Linked DNA regions of Homo sapiens: all the other regions are linked to region 3. Evidence: promoter capture Hi-C in human tissues and cell types (Jung and others, 2019). All regions are on one chromosome and are shown on one strand. Each heading gives the region's core, a stretch centred on a gene start or on the middle of the fragment in contact. The rest is flanking DNA. Distances are from core to core; before and after follow the strand shown.

Region 1 (2,700 bases), core at 167-2,666, 480 kb after region 3:
AGCCGAGACCATGCCACTGCACTCCAGCCTGGGTGATGCAACAGGACTCCGTCTCAAAAAAAAAAAAAAAAAAAAAGTAGCCCCCTTTTCCTTTCCTCCTTCCTAGAACCGCTTATTGATAGAACTTTACAAGAAGCCAACTGGCAAAGGAGTCTGGGCAAATGGTTTTTATATCAGCAGAGTTTAGAATGGCAGGCTTGACGCTGCAAGACAAGAGGGGGAAAGAAAACACACCAGAGATGTTTTCCTTTAATAGATTCTGGACTAAGGTGTCTTGAAACGTCTAAGGCAAAAACCTATAACGCTCCTATCTAGACAAGATGGGTGTTAGTATGTGTGGAAAAATGATGCTTATCCACAAATTCCCAGGAGAAGTTAAGCCTCATGAAGGATCTATAGGAGAAAACTGGAGAACCTTTATTTTCATTTATTTTATGTTTTTGAGATGGAGTCTTGCTTTGTCACCCAGGCTGGAGTGCAGTGGCATGATCTCGGCTCACTGCAACCTCTGCCTCCCAGGTTCAAGTGACTCTCCTGCCTCAGCCTCCTGAGTAGCTGGAACTACAGGCGCTCACCACCATGCCCAGCTAATTTTTGTATTTTTAGTAGAGACGGGGTTCCACCATGTTGGCCAGGCTGGTCTCGAACTCCTGACCTCAAGTGATCCACCCGCCTCGGCCTCCCAAAGTGCTGGGATTACCAGCATGAGCCACCGTGCCCGGCCACCTAGAGAACCTTTAAGTACCTGCAGAAAGCACTTCCAATTCTTTAGTTTTTGTTGTTGTTGTTGTTCTGATTATGTCCAGAGCTGATGATTCAGAGAATAAGATTGTGTCTGCCATCCCCATACACAAACGGGTGGTCACCTAAAGCTACCATTGTCCCATTTTCCTATGCCCCTACAAGCCCTACAAATCCCACAATTCCTCACCTACCAGGTGAACCCTCTTTGAAATTTCCTCCATAGGAAATTAAGCCATCAGACATCATCACTAAATTCCCAGAGCTCCTAGAAGGATACAATCCAGAAATAATAGAACACCAGGATAAGATTTGATCTTTTTTTTTTTCCCAGGCTGGAGTGCAGCGGTACAATCTCGGCTCACTGTAACCTCTGCCTCCTAGGTTCAAGCGATTCTCCTGCCTCAGCCTCCAGAGTAGCTGGGATTACAGGCGCGTGCCACCACGCCTGGCTAATTTTTGTATTTTTAGTAAACATGGGATTTCATCATATTGGCCAGGCTGGTCTTGAACTCCTTACCTCAGGTGATCCACCCACCTCAGCTTCCCAAACTGCTGGGATTACAGGCGTGAGCCACTGTGCCCAGCCTGATCTGTCTATTAAAAGGAGGGCATTTGCCAGGCACAGTGTCTCACGCCTGTAATCCCAGCACTTTGGGAGGCCGAGGTGGGCAGATCATGAGGTCAAGAGATCGAGACCATCCTGGCCAACATGGTGAAACCCCGTCTCTACTAAAAATACAAAAATTAGCCAGGCATGATGGCAGGTGCCTGTAGTCCCAGCTACTTGGGAGGCTGAGGCAGGAGAATCGCCTGAACCTGGGAGGTGGAGGTTGCAGTGAACCGAGATCACACCATTGCACTCCAGTCTGGGCGACACAGCAAGACTCCATCTCAAAAAAAAAAAAAAAAAAAAAAAGGAGGGCATTGGAATTAATTAAAAATAGATCATAATGAAGTAACTCTCCAGAGTAAACCTACATTACAACAAATCAAGAGAGGGGAGTTGTGTAACAATCCTAGCAAGAGGCACTGACATGATATTAAATCAACTTGGTTTTAACATGTGAGAGAACCTTTCCACCCACAAAGAGCTCGAGGTGCTGTAATTTGTACAACACTATTATCAGTTTATTGACTTGAAAACGGTGCTTAAAAATCTCAGAATCTCAAGAATAACTTCTGGAAAAGCATCTTATAAACAAAAAAAAAATGAATTGATTCCTTCTACTGGCAAATGCTTAGAAAACATTTTAAATCTTTTATTTGGATAAAGCTAAAAATACATGAATTTAGCTAGTTTGATTTTAGAAGACTTTAACTTTTTAAACTAATAGTACTTTTTATTTGTTTTTTACTTGCCAAGCATTGGGCGCAAACCAGTAGTACTTTTTAAAGCATGATCTTAAAAACAAATTTTCCTTTGGGGCTGAGAAGAATAGGTCACAGTCTGAAAAAAAGATGAGGGCTAATTATCTCAGACTTAGGTCTTTAGAGGAGGAAGTGGCAATTTTAATGTTATGTAATAGCAAAAACCCTAAGTTTCTAAGGCAACCAAAAAGGTTCTGAACTAACCACTGCTCTTTTCTTTGGCTTTAAAAAATCATTCGTGGCCAGGCCCGGTGGCTCACGGCTGTAATTGCAGCACTTTGGGAGGCTGAGGCAGGCAGATCACCTGAGGTCAGGAGTTCGAGGCCAGCCTGGCCAACATGGAGAAACCCTGTCTCTACTAAAAATACATTAGCTGGGTATGGTGGTGCACACCTGTAATCCTAGCTATTCGGGAGGCTGAGGCAGGAGAATCGCTTGAACCCGGGAGGCAGAGGTTGCAGTGAGCTGAGATTGTACCACTGCATTCCAGCCTGGGCAACAGACCAAAACCTCTGTTTCAAAAAAAAAAAAAAAAAAAAAAGAGAAAACATTTATTATGAATGGGGTTGAGGTTAGGTTTTTGTCCCC
Region 2 (2,700 bases), core at 133-2,632, 360 kb before region 3:
CTGACTGCAACCTCCGCCTCCCGGGTTCATGCGATTCTCCTGCCTCAGCCTCCTGAGTAGCTGGGATTACAGACGGGCACCACCATGCCTGGCTAATTTTTGTAGTTTTAATAGAGATGGGTTTCACCATGTTGGTAAGGCTGGTCTCAAACTCCTGACCTCAAGCAATCCACCTGCCTTGGGCTCCCAAAGTGTTGGGATTACAGGTGTGAGCCACCGCGCCTAGCCACTCTTCTTTTTATTAAGGATGGAGGAACAAGTTTCTCTTTGTTCTAATATTTTTGGAGTCTTTTTCCAAGAGAAAAAAAGAATAGAGATACAGCTTTATTCTGCTCTTTTGAACCCAAGCTTCTCCAAATTATTATGGTAGCATTTCTTATTAAATATTTACTTCTCTCTTATTCTTAAATTGCTTTGTTCATCTTCATTAGTAATTGGTAAAGGCCCATCCCTTTTAAATTTTTGACTCATTGTCTCCTACTCCCTTCGAGCTTGGCTTTGTTTATTCATGTGGTAATTTGCAAGTTGAAATGATATCCAACTTGGGAAAATTTTGCAGGATTTTTAAAAAGCATATTTGGAAAAGTTTCTTCAACTGCCGCCCAATTTATTTATAAAAGGCAGAAGATGCTTTAATCACAAATATTTAATCTCAGTTGATAAAATTGTCTTGGGAAGAAATTAATTTAATCTAAAGAAAATTTAAATAGAAAGCAAGATTTAAATGATTCATTATCGTTACCGTTCTTGTGAGTGTAAAATAGAAGAAAATAATAAAGGAATTTAGGGTTATACAACATGAGGAATAGGAAAATGACAGCCCTAGTGAGTGTCACTTCCCAAAAATGAAAGACTGGCACACAGGTCTTTGTTTTGGAAGGTTGTGGCAGTTTTCCATCCTAAATGAGATTGGTCACTGGACACAGTCCACATATAATTATGAAGAATCTTCTGGCTTCTCCACTTACCAGAATTCTATTCAGGTCATATCTCAGAAATGGAATACAAATGACTTCCTAAAATTCTAATAGCATTTCTTCAAATTCCAATTAAGTTTCCAAGTTTATCTTCTCTACCTACATAAGGATAATCTGACTGAAGGGCCCTGGCCAAAGCCTTCTGTGAACAGACAATGGTCATTCTCTTGGCAGGGGGTGGGGTGAAGAGGTTGTTTCATGTAAGGAGATTTTAGTATAATCCTGAGGATTTCCATATGGGATCCTACGGTTCTGTCAATACCACAAGTTCTTCAAAAGCAGAAAAGCAAATTTGGTTAAACTTAGAAACGTATCTCTAGAAAAGATTACTAATTTCTCCTTACCCCCAGCCCCTTCTCTCTAAAAGAAAGATGGATGGTTCTGGAAATGTCAGTAGCTTTCTGCCATCAGGGAAAAGTCCTCTGATAATTGTGTGCCGACGTTGTCTGGGAGCTCTTCTGGAGCTTACTTTACGTGCTTCTCAAACATGGGGATGGGAGTTGATGGGATCTGAGGGCACTTCCAGTTTGGATGTCCCGTCATCCAGAAAACCTCTCTCATACTTAAGGAAATGAAATGAAGGAGAGAAGGAAGCTACAGGGTATTTTAAATATATACCTTTGCATTAAAAAGAAACCCAAAAAACTCCGAAACAAAAAACCAACCCGTTTAGTTATAACATACCACCAGGGTGCGGATATGCATTTCTTCAAGGCCCTATTTCCATCAAAACTGTCTCCATTGTTAAAGGCATTCAAATATATGACAAGTACACTGTACAACAGACTAGCCCATGACTTGTGCCTTATTTTATCTGAATCTCACTCAGCCTCTCTCTTTTCTCTTTCGCTTAGTCTTTCTCTATCTCTGTCTCTCTCTCACACACATATACACCACTCTGTGCCCAGTGTTTTTTGTTTTGTTTTGTTTAATTTAGAAAAGGAGCCAAGTAGAGAAAAAGCAGCATAGATTAATCGAAGAAACAATGAACTAATGTTCAGCCCAGCTCCAGCCAGCTGTGGGGTCCTAAACCAAGTTATCTCAGTTTCCTCTTCCTCTGTGCTCTCCTTTGCAAAGTGGGAGACCATAACCAACGAGTTTATCTTATCGGTTGCTGTGGACCTGCAGTGAGTTAAATCTGCCTTTGAACACTGTATGAGAGGCTATACCACTCTCCGGATAGACCAGTTTACACGGGAGGCAGTTATTAGTCCTATGCTGATTTAGTACTCCATTATACCACACTCCAGGAATCTTAGGGTGGCTCTTCCATTAAAAAGCATTAATTCAGTGCCTAACTACCTATCATGGAGATGGTCAACTGTCCACATTTTAAAGGGAATTGGTTTCAACCTGTAGCTTTTATTCTGTTAAGAATTATCTATGAGAAAGAGATCAGTCTTGGTACCACCAAAACTGGGTAGAACGAATTCTTGATGTAGACTAAAGGGTGCTAATACCATTTCAGTATTCAGCAGGGACTGAGGTTTCAACAGCTTAGAACTGTGGTCTCAGAGGTCACGTGGTTCAACCTTATGTCCTGGGTATCTACCACCCTCTGACACAGAATCCTTGCTGGCTTCATTCAGCACCTTCCTGATTAAAAAAAAAAAAAAATTTCCACTACCTTGAGGCAGCTCTTTGGAATTTTGGACAGTTTCTGACAACTCATGTTAAGGAAAAACTTCCTGTGTTTGTCCATTGGTTGAATTTTCATCCATTG
Region 3 (2,700 bases), core at 36-2,535:
GGCCCTGGAGTCAAATGCCTCTGCTCACATCCCACTCTGCAAGACTTTGGGCAACTTAAGCAGCAGCCTCTGTTTCCATCGCAGTGGCTCTTGCCTATAATCCCAGCACTTTGGGAGGCTGAGGCGGGAGGATCACTTGCGCCCAAGAGTTCGAGACCACCCCATCTCTACAAAAAAATCCAAAAAGTAATCTGCTTCCTCATGTGAATGTCGTTGTAAGGAGTGAGATAACACATAGAGTGCAATGAGCAAGTCCCAGCACAGAAGACTCATTTCATAAAATACGTGTTTATTATTACCATAGGCCTACAGTCCCCGGTATTCTTAACACATCTTGCCTGAGAAGTATCACACTCATGCCTATCAACCAGCTCACACATTTAATCAAAGGAATTTGGCAGCTGTAGGGTTGTCTTTTCATCCATATCGTCCCTGGAATTAACTGTCCTGCTATACCAGTCAGATTGAGCAGCATCTGTCAAGAGTTTCAGTCCCACTTGCAGAGGAAAGGCTCTCTGGCTTCGGTCCGTGGCTCTCCGTAGGTGCCGTGTCTGGACCCAGCCTACCTTCATCTCTGTTAGGCTTAGGGCTGTCTCCACACTGTGTCTTGTCCAATCACAAGACTTCAACGGAGCGGGCGGTCTGGCCTAGGCTCTTATGCGTGGGATGTCTGCAGGCCAACAATCCCAGTCGGGATTCGAAGCCGCGCGCAGTGCCCGGAATGACCCCTCCACATTGATGCCACTGTAGAGCCCGGAAGGAAAAGCAAGCGGCCTCGGCCCCGCACAGCCCAGGATTAAATGTTTGCGCCAGGGCCCCTCTGGCTACCTGGTGGTGGCCCCGAGCGGCCTCGGAGGCCGCGGCGTAGCTCCTGGGTGAAGGCGTCTCTAAATCGCTCAGCGCGGCGGCACAGGGAGCCCACGGGCCCAGCCGCGAGGTCCTGCAGGCGGCGGGCCGCGTCCTGGCCCCGCAGCTGGGCCTGCAGCAGTGCGAAGGCCGTGAGCTGCGCCGCACGTCGGATAGGCCGCGACTCTGACAGACGTTCCACCAGCTGCGGGCTGTGCAGCAGGGCGGCCAGCAGCCGCCGCAGCACCATCTTCTCCAAGCGCCCGGAACCCGACCTCGCCGCCCTCGTCTTCCGCCCCGCGGCGCCCGACCCGGACGTCTATGCCCCCGCGCAGCTTGATGACGACACGCCGCCCTCGGATTGGGTCCAATGAGATGCTCGCCTCCGCGCGTTTCCGCTTCCGCCATCGCGGACGCAGCCTCGTGCCGGGAGTCGCCGCATTGTGGTCCGCTTCTCTGCACTATGTCGGGTGGCCTCCTGAAGGCGCTGCGCAGCGACTCCTACGTGGAGCTGAGCCAGTACCGGGACCAGCACTTCCGGGTGAGGGAGGCCGGGCCGCGAGACGGGAAGGCCCTGGGCAAGAACGCTGAGAAACGGTTTGCTCTTGTCTCATTGTGTCGCCTCCCATTCAGCTGAAATCCGCAAACGCCAAGTGGGGCCCCGGTGCCTGCTGGCGAGGCAGGGAATGGGTGCTGGAAGGGCGCTTGGATATCACTGAAGCCACTTGCTCTGGAAGACGGGGAACTGGAGGCTCGCTTATCCCATTCGCTCGCAGCCGCTCCCTGTACCCCAGCCAGTGCCGAGAGGTTTGAGCGGTGGTGGTGGTGGCGGCTCCCGTTTCCACGGTTGTGCCTCCGCAGACGACTACGTAGCAAGGGGGAGGGGTGCCCTTCTCTCTCCCAGAGTAGGCAGAGGCGCCTTCCTGATGCAGATGCGGGGCTTTTTGCTTTGTTTTTTAAATCGGCGAAGCAGTGCCCTTCGGCGATTCGGGCCCCTTCTCTGGGAGGATGGTGTTACGGAAGCTGTACGCGGTGCGTGGGAGACACAAGTGGAGTCCTCACTCCGCCCTCGGGGAAGCTTCGGAGTGGGGAGGTGGACCCGCCAAGCTCGGCACTTTGAGGGTGTTCGGATGTAAAGATCGGAGAATTGCTGGATTTCAGAAGAGGGAAATTTTTAGTCCGGACTATATCACAGTATATTTTGTGGAAAAAGGGGAGGCAGCAGATATTCAAAGTAGACTTTTCAGTATCAGCGGAGGTAGGGATGGAATACGGTTGGGGGTTGGCGGGGCGGGACTCATTAACCCAATTATTTAGTAAACGTTTATCGAGTGCTGTCGCCAAATCCTTGTGCTAAACCCTAGAGGGAGAGGGAAGACAGTTTCTGCGCTCTGCGAGCTCATAATCCCCTGTAGTGAGGATTCAGAAAAGGGAAAAATCCCCTTGTGACTGGGAAAGGAAGGGGCGCATATAGCAGAGGGTAAGTGTGGAGAATGTGTGAAATGTGTTACTAGAGTAGGGAAAGGGAAATTTTGTTTGACGCTAAATTAGGGAAGCTCTTAGATTTATTTAGTCAAGGCTGGGAACGGTGGCTCACGCCTGTAATCCCAGCACTTTGGGAGGCTGAGGCGGGTGGATCACGAGGTTAGGAGTTCAAGACTAGCCTGGCCAAGATGGTGAAACCCCGTCTTACTAAAAATACAAAAATTAGGCGGGCGTGGTGGCAGGCGCTTGTAATCCCAGCTATTCGGGAGGCTGAGGCAGGAGAATCGCTTGAACCGGGGAGGTGGAGGTTGCTGTGAGATCGCGCCACTGCACTCCAGCCTGGGCAACAGAGCGATATTCCTTCTCAAA
Region 4 (2,700 bases), core at 15-2,514, 440 kb after region 3:
GTTTTGCTGTGTTGGTCAGGATGGTCTCAATCTCTTGACCTCGTGATCCACCTGTCTTGGCCTCCAAAAGTGCTGGGATTACAAGCGTGAGCCACCGCGTCCGGGCTGTTTTAGTTTTTATCCACCATAGATGAGTTTTTTCTGTTCTGGAACTTCATATAAATGGAATTCTTTTTATTTCCTAGGGCTACTGTAACAAAGTACCACGAACTTAGCAGAAATTTATTCTCCCTCAGTTCTGAAGAGTAGAACTCCAAACCCAAGATGCTAGCAGGGAGCAGGGACATGTACATTGAAGGCTCTGGGAGAGAATCTGTTCCGTGCCCTTCTCCTTAGCTTCTGGTGTGGCTGGAATCCATGGTGTTCCTGGTTTGCAGCTGAGTCACTCCAGTCTCTGCCTCCATTGGCACGTAGAGTTTCCCGGTGTGTCTGTCTTTACATGGCCGTCTCCTCTGTGTCTCTCTCTTTTTTTTTTACCAGGACACTAGTTATATTGGATTAAAGGCTCTGTACTCTTTGTATGAACTCCATTATATCTGTAACAACCTGTTTCCAGTTAAGACCACATTCTTAGTTACTGGGAGTTAGGACTTAAGCATATCTTTTGGGGGGTTATTCAGCATAAGGTTCAAGATTTATTCTTTTTTTTTTTTTGAGACAGTCTTGTTCTGTCACCCAGTCTGGAATGCAGTGACAGGATCTCGGCTCACTGCAACCTCCGTCTCCTGGGTTCAAGTGATTCTCCTGCCTCAGCCTCCTAAGTAGCTGGGATTACAGGCACGCACCACCATGCCTGGCTAATTTTTGTATTTTTAGTAGAGATGGGGTTTCACCATGTTGCCCAGCCTGGTGTCGAACTCCTGACCTCAGGTGATCCACCCGCCTCGGCCTCCCAAAGTGCTGGGATTACAGGCATGAGCCACCGCGCCTGGCCTCAAGATTTATTCTTGTGTAGATATTCGTTTTTTAAGTATTATTCCACCATTGACTATGCTGTATATGATTGGCCATTCTCCACTGATACAGTGCTTCAGTTGCTTGCAGTTTTGGATATTATGAATAAAGTTGCTGAGAAGGTTCTTGTGCAAGTTTTTGTGTCTCTGTGTGTGTATGTGTGGCCTTATGTTTTCAGGGTTTTTTTGGTTAAATACTTAGGAGCTGGAATTACGCAACGTAGAATAGGTACATATTTTTATAAGAAACTACCTGCCAGGCATGGTGGCTCACGCACTTTGGGAGGCCGAGGCGGGTGGATCACAAGGTCAGGAGTTCAAGACCAGCCTGGCCAAGATGCTGAAACCCCATCTACTAAAAATACAAAAATTAGCCGGGTGTGGTGGCGGGCACCTGTAATACCAGCCACTCGGGAGGCTGAGGCAGAGAATTGCTTGAACCCAGGAGGCAGAGGTTGCAGTGAGCCTAGATCGCGCCACTGCACTCTAGCCTCGGTGACAGAGTGAGACTCCATCTCAAAAAAAGAAAGAAGAAACTACCAGATCTTTTTCGAAAGTGGTTGTGTCATTTTGTAATCCCACCAACAGCATACAGGTTCTGGTTGCCGTACATCTTACCAACTTTTGATGTTATCTGTCTTTTTAGATTTAACCATTCCAGTTGATTTGTATTGATAGTAGTATCTTGTTTTAATTTCAATTTCCAGGTAACTAATGATAGTGTTCTTTTTCATGTGCTTATTGACAGTTTTGCCCTCTTCCATTGTAAAGTGTCTGTTTAATTCTTTTTCCCCTAAATTGTTTATATTCAGTTGTAGACATTATTTATGTATTTTGAATACTGGTACTTTGCCAGATATTCTTAATTGTTTTGACGAGCTGAAATTCTTAATTTTCATGAAGTCTCATAAATTTTTCCTTTTATAGTTTATTGCTTTTTATGGTCTAAGAAACCTTTAGCTACCTTCAGGCTAAGATATTGCTATTTTTTTTTCTAAAAGATTTATAGTTTTACCTTTTTTTTTTGGAGACTGAATTTCGTTGTGTCGCCCAGGCTGGAGTGCAGTGGCGTGATGGCTCACTGCAACCTCCACCTCCCAGGTTCAAGCGATTCTCCTCCCTCAGCCTCCTGAGTAGCTGGGACTACAGGCACGCACCACCATGCCTGGCTAATTTTTGTATTTTTTGTAGAGATGGGGCTTCACCATGTTGGCCAGGCTGGTCTTGAAGTCCTGACCTCGTGATCCGCCTGCCTTGGCCTCCCAAAGTGCGAGGATTACAGGTGTGAGCCACTGTGTCTGGCCAGTTTTAACTTTTATGTTTAGGTCTTTGATCCATTTCAAATTAATTTTGAATATTGTATAAGTTAGGGGGTTGAGGTTAACTTTTTCCCATATGGGTATCAGTTATTTCTGTACCTTTTGTTGAAAAGACTTTTTAAAAAAAATAATGTGGGTCTATTCTATTTCATTGATCCGTTGATTCTAATATTAGTGTCACACTGTCTTGATTACTGTGACTTTAGAGTAAATCTTTTTTTTTCTTTTTGAGACAGAGTCTTGCTCTGTTGCCTAGGCTGGAGTGCAGTGGCGTGATCTCAGCTCACTACATCCTCTGCCTCCCAGGTTCAAGCAGTTCTCCTTCCTCAGCCTCCTGAGTAGCTGCGATTACAGGCATGTACCACCATGCCTGGCTAATTTTTGTATTTTTAATAGAGACGGGAGTTTCACCACATTGGCCAGGCTGG
Region 5 (2,700 bases), core at 144-2,643, 460 kb after region 3:
GCACTTTGGGAGGCCGAGGCGGGTGGATCACCTGAGGTCAGGAGTTCAAGACCAGCCTGGCCAACATGGCGAAACCCCATCTCTACTAAAAATACAAAAATTAGCCGGGTGTGGTGGCGAGCACCTGTAATCCCAGCTACTCGGGAGGCTGAGGCAGAGAGAATTGCTTAAAACTCAGGAGGTGGAGGTTGCAGTGAGCTGAGACTGCACCACTGCACTCCAACCTGGGCAATAGAGTGAGACGCCGTCTCAAAAAAAAATAAATAAAATAATGGCCAGGTGCGGTGGCTCACACCTGTAATCCTAACACTTTGGGAAGCCGAGGTGGGTGGATCACCTGAGGTCAGGAGTTCAAGACCAGCCTGGCTGTCCTGTCTCTACCAAAAATACAATACTTCTGAGGTCAGGCATTCGAGATCAGCCTGTCTCTACCAAAAATACAAAAATTCGCTGGGCATGGTGGTGCATGCCTGTAATCCCAGCTACTTGGGAGGCTGAGGCAGGAGAGTTGCTTAAACCCGGGAGGCAGAGGTTGCAGTGAGCAGAGATTGTGCCATTGTACTTCAGTCTGGGCGATAGAGTGAGACTCTGTCCCCCAAAAAATAAAATAACTAAAATAAACAAAATCAAAAAGAGTGTGTATTTCATAGAAATCATATTTTTAAAAAATTGGTTACATATGTTAAAAGGAGAACCTTAGACAAATTAACAGAGTTTAATTGAGCAAAGGACAATTCACAAATTGGGCAGCCTCTCGAGCCAGAGTAGGCCGAGAGCGACTCCCGTGGAGCCACATGTCGGAAGAAGATTAACAGACAGAAAAGGGAACGTGATGTATGGAAAGCAGAAATGAGGGGCAGAGACAGCCAGAGTGGTTACAGTTTGGCATTTGCCTTATTTGAACATGATTTGAACAGTTGGCCCCCTTTGGCCAAAGCTTGGTGACTGGCACAAGAGTAGTTTACAGGCTGTTCACACCTCCCTTTAGGCTGTAGTTCACTATATACAGAGAAATCTTTGGGCTGAACTTAAAATACGTAAGGAGGCAGCTTTAGGCTAAACTTAATTTAAAACATAAAAGGAAGCAAATGGGAATGGATCCCAAAAATTCAGACTCAAGGAAAAAAGAAAAAAAAAAGTTCTTAAAACATGGGAAGGGAAAGGGTTGATGACATATATTTCCTGTATTTCTGTTTTGTTTAAGAGACAGGGTCTCACTGTTACCCAGGCCACAGTGGCAAGAAAATAGCTCACTGCAGCCTCAAACTCTTGGGCTCAAGCGATCCTCCCACCTCAGCCTTCAGAGTAGCTGGGACTATAGGCACACACCATTATGTCCAGCTAATTTTTCTTTTTAATTTTTTGTAGAGATGGGTCTTGCTGTGTTGTCCAGTTTTCGGACTCCTGGCCTCAAACGATCCTCCCACCTCAGCCTCCCAAAGTGTTAGAATTACAGGCATGAACCACCACGGCCAGTTCTGCTTATTTTCAGAATGAGCATGTATTCATATATTACTTGGTTATTATAAATAAGGAATATCCAAGAGAGTTAATGAATCTTCAGTGATTGTGTTGGATAAGTAATAACATTCTGTTCTCTGCTTATGAACGTCAAAACAACTGTTATAACAGTGATACTTTGGTACTGGTATGCTTCGTAAGTAGTGGTCCCGCATCAGCATTGACAGAAAGAATTCTTCAGCCTAAAGAAACTAAATGAGACTAAGCTTCTTTTCAACTGAAAATTTGGTTCTTGTTCTTCAAAGTTAACAGAGTAAATATATAGATTGATATAACTAAATATATGGGTTAGGTACTCTTGTTTGCCCATAAGGAATATTCATTAGTTCTTTATATGAGATCTTTGTTTAGGTTTGATTGTTCCATATGCTACTTGTTGGTGCTTTTGACACAGTGTAACTTATGGATTTGTCTGTTATTTATAGTCACTTTTTTTCTCTAATTCTAAAAGCCATGGCTAGCTGCTCTTTGAAAATCACCCAAAGTTTCCACCATTTGGAGACAACCAACATTTTGGGAAATTTCTGCCATTTGTAAACATAGTTATATGCATGTTTGGATATTTTACAATTTTTAAACTATACCTACCATCTTGTAGCCTGCCTTTTCTATTCCCCGTTCTTTTATAACATTTTCCATTCTATTAAAACCGTAGTGTTTTCAGTGGCAAACAGCCTGTTATATTGAAGATTCTTAGAAATGTAAAGATATGACCAGGTGCAGTGGCTCACGCCTGTAATCCCAACACTTAGGGAGGCCGAGGCAGGCGGATCACCTGAGGTCAAGAGATTGAGACCATCCAGGCCAACGTGGTGAAACCCTGTCTCTATTAAAAATACAAAAATTAGCAGGGCATGGTGGCGTGTGCCTGTAGTCCCAGCTACTCAGGAGGCTGAGGCAGGAGAATCACTTGAACCCGGGAGGCGGAGGTTGCAGTGAGCCAAGATCATGTCACGGCACTCCAGCCTGGCGACAGAGTGAGACTCTGTCTCAAAAAAAAAGAAAGAAATGTAAAGATATGTGTTTCTAAGAAGAGAGTTGAGGGCCAGGCACGGTGGCTCACGCATGTTATCCCAGCACTTTGGGAGGCCGAAGCAGGCGGATCACCTGAGGTCAGGACTTCGAGACCAGCCTGGCCAACATGGTGAAACCCCGTCTCTACTAAAAATACAAAAATTA
Region 6 (2,700 bases), core at 104-2,603, 510 kb after region 3:
CGGGAGGCGGAGCTTTCAGTAAACTGAGATTGCACCACTGCACTCCAGCCTGGGCGACAGAGCGAGACTCCCTGTCAAACAAAACAAAACAAAAAACTATACCCCTTGATTTGACATGGCTCTTTCTTAATTCTCCCCAATAGCATGTTTACTCTTAGGATGTGTCAATTCTTCAGACAGCTCATCCCATCTTTTATTGGGCCATTTTCCTATGAAGATGCAAAATATGTGGGTGGAGGTTGGAAGGTGGGAGGCTAAAACAAACGGAATCACTTGGAATCTCTTTTAACTTTATGGGCAAGGTGGGGGATTATTGGATTTGAGCGCACCCCACTCATGTAACTGTTTTGCAAAATACTTAAAATTATTCAAGGAACACACGAATATCTTTTTTTTTTTTTTTTTTTTGAGATGGATTCTTGATATATTTCCCAGTCTGGTCTCGAACTCCTTGCCTCAAGCGATTCTCCCACCTCGGCCTTCCAAAGTGCTGGGATTACAGTCATGAGCCACCGCGCCCGGCCAATAATGTTTGTTTAAAAATAAAAAGATAAATAAGAAACTCGAAGTAAGGTCCGCTTTGACCATCGTCCCGATCGTTCTCTTCTCTGGAGGTAACCGTTACCAGCGTTTTGAGCACACTTTTCCAGTCTCCTTTCTATATGTTTTCTTTCCTCTACTGCATATACAGAGTTTCTTTTTATACAAATGACGCCTCTTGGGGTCTCATTAAGACCCTAACGGGAGACGTGATGGCCAATTTATTTAAGGAAAGCAGACTAAACAATCGTTTATGAAAACCTACTGGGTGGCAACCCCGCGCTAAGTGCTTTCTTTGGCATGAAGGGTTCTGGTATTTCACTCGTCGCAATCGGTTAGCTAAGCCATTAGTTTAGAGGCTGGGGGGCGAGTACGGGGAGAGTCGCTTCAAAGCGAGGAGGTAGGGTTTGCATTTTGATGGGACCTGCAGGAAACCTAATAGAGTGCGGTACAACCGCAAAACAGAAAAATGCTGTCATCGGCAGTTGGCTCTGTCAATAAAGCTTGCGAAGCTGAAATGCGAAGAACTATCTGCCGAGACCGAAGCTTCCTTCGGAATCTAGGAATCGACACCGCGCCTGCGAGGCTAGCCTTGGAGCCCGGAGAGGAAGGCACCAGCAATGGCAAAAAGGATGCACTGAGCAGGCAGCAACCGAGCAGCCAACCCGAGAGCTGGGAGCGCGCGGGCCCGGTCGGAAAATGCGCCTGCGCAGACCGCTGGGGACGGGAGGGGCGGGGCTCGAGGGGCGGTCAATGCGCCTGCGCACACCGCACGGCGAAGTGGGGGAGGGCAGTCCGTGTGTGTCTGTGTTGTTGTTCGGCGGCGGCGGCGGCGGTAAGATGGCTGCCCACGGGGGCTCCGCGGCGTCCTCGGCGCTGAAGGGGTTAATTCAACAGTTCACCACCATTACCGGTAAGAGACGCGGTTACCGGAAGGTGGAGAGTGGGGTCCGGAGCGGGCAGCGGGTCTGCCCCGGGCTTCCCCTTACCTTCAGGCATTCCTCCTTCGGGCTTTACCCACAGCTGCCGTCCTCCCTCCTGAGGAAGAGGCGACGACGGCGTCGGGGTCTCCGGGTTCAGGCGGGAGACAGCCCCCCCCCGCTCCCGATACCCTCGTTCTCTGTCTCCTAGTAGCGTGGAGGGAGATCCCCCAACCCCCCGCCAGCCCAGACCTGGGAATGGGCCGAGTCCGTCCGCCCCCGCCGGCCCGGGGACCCGGGGGCGGGAGGAGTAGGGGGCCGCACCCGGGCCACCGCCCTCCTCCTCCTCCTTCATCATCTTCCCTTCTCTGTGCAGCCCTGCGGTGCGGTGCATCTCCTCACCTCCTTTTTTCCTTTCTTCCCCGGCCAGGTCATTCTGCCCCGGTCCCCGGCCTGCCCTTCCCCTTTCTGGGCCCCTCGGAGCCATCGCCGTGGCCCTGGCGGGTTCGGGCCCTCCCGCCTTCACGGCAAGGCCGGTGGGTTCGGCCGTGCCTTTACACTTCACGGGGGACAGGCCGCCAGAAGCGGGGGGTGCTGAGGAGGACCTCAGGGACTGAGGCTTTGAGGGAAGAATGAGGGGGAACCCCCAAGCTGAATAGGGGAGGCCTGGAAGAATCCAGGGTGGCGTTTCCCACCTCCCCATAATAAAATCATAAAGACGGAGACGATGGCGCCGGGGCCTCCTGCTGATAAGATAGGGATGGCGGCAGAAACTTCTTTGAGAGAAAATCTGTTTCTGGGTGTCGGTATCCCCGAAACCCTAGGCCTAGGTTCTCTCCCTTTGGACCCCTGCGAAGGACACACGCAGATCCTCTTACCGCCTGGAGGAAAGGCCCTAAAGCCATTCTATGAATTCTCTCTGTCTTGTTTCTCTCTGATGGTGCTGAACTTTTCTTGCATGAGTTATTAGAGGGCGGAGCAAATGATGAAGTTCTCTGTGGAGTGATTTGAGAGAAGAGTACTCCAATGTGCCTGAGTGTAATTTTGCCGTTCTAGTTTGTCGTTTTGGAAGGAGGTCAGAATGTTAGTTCCCTCTCAACGGATCTATACTTTATCTCGTAATTTGTTAGATGCGGAGAATGTTTCCACTGTTAATGTTCCTAGAGTTTAACGTGCAATATCTGGTTAAGTAAAATTTTATATTGTTTTAACTACTACAGGTTGTATACTAGTTACCGTT
Region 7 (2,700 bases), core at 152-2,651, 290 kb before region 3:
CTTGTAGGTCACCTGATGTATTTTTTTTCAGCGTGAAGAACTTCTTTAACATTTCTTGAAATGCATTTCTTCTGGTGATGAATTCTCTCAGCTGTTGTTTACTTGAAAGAAGTATTTTTATTTTGTCTTTTTTTTAATTTTTGAGACAGGATCTCACTCTGTTGCCCAGGATGGAGTGCAGTGGTGCCATCTCAGCTCACTGGAACCTTTTCCTCCCAGGCTTAAGTGATCCTCCTGCTTCAGCCTCCCAAGTAGCTGGAACTACAGGCATGCCCCACCACACCCAGCTGATTTTTTACTTTTTGTAGAGACGGGATTTCGCCATGTTGCTCATGCCACTCTTGAACTCCTGGTCTCAAGCAGTCTGCCTACCTTGGGCTCCCAGAGTACTGGGATTACAGGCATGAGCCACCATGACTAGCCTGCCTTTATTTTTGAATGATAGTTTTGATGAAAAAAATTCTGGGTTGACAGGTTTTTTTTCCCAGCACGTTTAAAACCTCATTCCATTTGGTATGTTTTTATTGGTTCCATTTCTGTCATGATATTCATGTTTTCCTTTAAGTCCTTGAGCATACTTAAGTTTTATGAGTGTTTTTGAGTTTTTATCTGCTAATTCTGTCATTTTGCATTTCTAAGTCTATTATGAACTGGCTTTCCTCCTCTGATGGCTCACAGTTTTCTGCTTCTTTGCATATCTGGTTATTTTTCATTGGATCCCAGACATTGTGAATGTAATTGAGTGTTCCTAAGTACTGTTTTCTCTGGAAAATACTGTTGTTTGTTTTGGAAGGCAATTAAGTCATTTGCAGATAAGGTTGATCAGTTCAAGACTTTTTAAAGCTTTTTAAAAGTTGGATCTCAAGTAGCCTTTTCTTTAAGGCCAGCTTAGCCTTAATGCTAAGGCTTGACTGTCTAGGAGTGTCCACTGATTACTACAAGTGTTTATTGAGGCCCCTCTGCTCTGTATAAGTTTGAACACTCCTCAGCTTACTGTGAGCTCTGAAGCTTGTTTATAAGTCCCTTACAGTTTTATTTGCCTGGCCTTGTTGAATTTTATGCTGTTCACGTGTTGATTAGTATTCAGACTGAAGTCTCAAGGGTACTCACTATTTGATTTCTGGAGCTCTTTTTCTGCTTAGCCTTCTTCTTTCCAGTATTCTGCCTTGCACATTCCAGTGCTTCCGTCTCCTTGAACACCAGTCTTGATTTTTGTCAACCCAGTAAGATGGCTGTATTGGCTTGGGTTTCTCCATCATGTGTCAAGTTCCAAAAAATGGCCTCCAGGCAGGAAGCCAGGAAGATCGTAGAGCTCACTTTGTTTTCCTTCTCTCAGGTATTGTAGTCCTGTACTGCTTGTTGTCCAGTGCTGAAAACTGTTGTGGCATGTATTTTTTTTCTAGTTTTCTAGTTGTTTTAAGGCAGAAGGTCAAGTTCTGTACCAGTTAACTTCTTCATGGCCTGACGTAGAAGTTTTTTCATATTTTGTTTATTTAGATCCTGTTTAATTTCACAATAGATTTAAGCTGGTTACTCTGGAATAGAAACTACTACTTCAGTAGTTTCCTTAAAAAACATAACTTTTGACGTGACTTTTTGGGATGAGGGAGATACAATGTATGTTCATTGTAGAGTTTAGAAATACACAAAAATGAACCTAAGTCTCATGTAAACTCAGACTCCATATCTTACCTCTATTAACATTTTTCTGTGTTCTAGTCATTTTTCTGTGATTATATATATAACCCCTTTTATACATAATTACGGGGCATAAACAGACATACAGCCCTCTTTCTTTGTTCCCCCAGTTTGTATTGTGTTTTTGTTTGTTTGTTTTGCTAAAAGGCAAAATTTTAGTCCAAGGTTAGTTTTTCATGTTATTACATGTTCTTTAAAACTATGCTTGTCTGTCCATATTATAATGGCAGTTTAAGATTTCACAACAGGAATATATCATCATTTATTTAGAGAATGTGGGATTGATTAGACATTTTTATTCTTTTCAAAAGTAAGATCTCCAGTCAGTTAAAACTCTACTCCTAAATTCATCCATTATACTTTTTGGAAATGTTTTGTCCTTGTTTTATCCATTTCCTCCTCCCTGAGAAAAGCATTCTGCATTGAAATTTTACACTCAATTTGGTTTGAGAACTGTGCTTTGCTTTTCTTAATTGGATCATCTGGGGTTGTAAGCCTGTCTGTGTATTAGAACTGGACAGGGAGCTCGTTAAAAATAAAGATCGTTAGGCTTAAATTAGACTAAATACCTGGGAATCTTCTTTGGATATCTCACCATTTGGGAACCACTGTTCAAAACCTTATCTCTGGTATTCTAGGTTTCCTTAAAGACTGTGTGTTGATTGGCTTAGTAGGACATAAGATGAGACTCATTGGCGCTCAGCCACAGCCTCTTTGTGTTCATCTATTTCGTTTTTTGGGGACTTCCACCTAAGATGCTGTTTCAAAGAAGTTTTATGCTAGAAGCAAATGTGTTTACCATGGATATTGTTTATCAGAGCTCCGCTTCCAGTGTATAATGGATGGATTTCTTTAGTTTCCTTGAACATGGAGAAGCCTGAAGCAAACTGTATGAGATAGGAGTCATGGCTTGTAGAAGCTTACATAAAACCTTTAAGGCTGGGCACGGTGGCTTACGCCTGTAATCCCAGCACTTTGGGAAGCTGAGGTGGGCAGATCACT

The links. The method cuts DNA at HindIII sites, captures the fragments that hold promoters and counts their contacts. A contact is called where the count stands out against the background at its distance.
Region 1: a contact is called between a fragment that was not itself captured here and the fragment with the promoter of NCBP2 in region 3, in 1 of the 25 tissues and cell types used here (hippocampus).
Region 2: a fragment that was not itself captured here is called in contact with the fragment with the promoter of NCBP2 in region 3 in 1 of the 25 tissues and cell types used here (lymphoblastoid cells).
Region 4: a contact is called between a fragment that was not itself captured here and the fragment with the promoter of NCBP2 in region 3, in 1 of the 25 tissues and cell types used here (dorsolateral prefrontal cortex).
Region 5: a contact is called between a fragment that was not itself captured here and the fragment with the promoter of NCBP2 in region 3, in 2 of the 25 tissues and cell types used here (H1 embryonic stem cells and dorsolateral prefrontal cortex).
Region 6: a contact is called between the fragment with the promoter of UBXN7 here and the fragment with the promoter of NCBP2 in region 3, in 1 of the 25 tissues and cell types used here (dorsolateral prefrontal cortex).
Region 7: a contact is called between a fragment that was not itself captured here and the fragment with the promoter of NCBP2 in region 3, in 4 of the 25 tissues and cell types used here (dorsolateral prefrontal cortex, lymphoblastoid cells, mesenchymal stem cells and 1 more).

What each region holds. Positions count from the first base shown.
Region 1 is chr3:196,457,342-196,460,041 of GRCh38, reverse strand. No RefSeq gene overlaps it. Among named protein-coding and RNA genes, the nearest start is that of UBXN7, 26 kb to the right of the region's middle. The HindIII fragment of the contact is 8,617 bases long and covers 1-2,700 here.
Region 2 is chr3:197,302,942-197,305,641 of GRCh38, reverse strand. DLG1-AS1 (DLG1 antisense RNA 1) reads right to left here. Exons shown (of 3, transcript NR_038289.1): 3 at 1,891-2,700. Among named protein-coding and RNA genes, the nearest start is that of DLG1, 5.7 kb to the right of the region's middle. The HindIII fragment of the contact is 5,403 bases long and covers 1-2,700 here.
Region 3 is chr3:196,941,113-196,943,812 of GRCh38, reverse strand. NCBP2 (nuclear cap binding protein subunit 2) reads left to right here and starts at 1,285. Exons shown (of 4, transcript NM_007362.5): 1 at 1,285-1,387. The coding sequence starts at 1,310. NCBP2AS2 (NCBP2 antisense 2 (head to head)) reads right to left here and starts at 1,139. Exons shown (of 1, transcript NM_001355243.2): 1 at 270-1,139. The coding sequence starts at 1,096. The coding sequence ends at 797. NCBP2-AS1 (NCBP2 antisense RNA 1) reads right to left here. Exons shown (of 3, transcript NR_046630.1): 2 at 2,671-2,700; 3 at 1,279-1,420. RefSeq lists enhancers at 682-841, 606-1,279, 1,062-1,361, 1,412-1,551, 1,582-1,821 and 1 more. The HindIII fragment of the contact is 10,051 bases long and covers 1-2,700 here.
Region 4 is chr3:196,496,947-196,499,646 of GRCh38, reverse strand. The region is part of intron 1 of RNF168 (ring finger protein 168); the gene reads left to right. The region is part of intron 1 of LOC105374306 (a long non-coding RNA gene); the gene reads left to right. Among named protein-coding and RNA genes, the nearest start is that of RNF168, 5.5 kb to the left of the region's middle. The HindIII fragment of the contact is 8,083 bases long and covers 1-2,700 here.
Region 5 is chr3:196,476,580-196,479,279 of GRCh38, reverse strand. The region is part of intron 4 of RNF168 (ring finger protein 168); the gene reads left to right. Among named protein-coding and RNA genes, the nearest start is that of RNF168, 26 kb to the left of the region's middle. The HindIII fragment of the contact is 5,717 bases long and covers 1-2,700 here.
Region 6 is chr3:196,431,080-196,433,779 of GRCh38, reverse strand. It overlaps UBXN7 (UBX domain protein 7), which reads left to right and starts at 1,353. Exons shown (of 11, transcript NM_015562.2): 1 at 1,353-1,453. The coding sequence starts at 1,381. It overlaps UBXN7-AS1 (UBXN7 antisense RNA 1), which reads right to left and starts at 2,395. Exons shown (of 2, transcript NR_046745.1): 1 at 2,339-2,395; 2 at 746-1,578. RefSeq lists enhancers at 1,036-1,115, 1,048-1,821, 2,196-2,245, 1,822-2,596 and silencers at 1,156-1,405, 1,426-1,485. The HindIII fragment of the contact is 10,299 bases long and covers 1-2,700 here.
Region 7 is chr3:197,233,755-197,236,454 of GRCh38, reverse strand. The region is part of intron 4 of DLG1 (discs large MAGUK scaffold protein 1); the gene reads left to right. Among named protein-coding and RNA genes, the nearest start is that of MIR4797, 59 kb to the left of the region's middle. The HindIII fragment of the contact is 3,494 bases long and covers 1-2,700 here.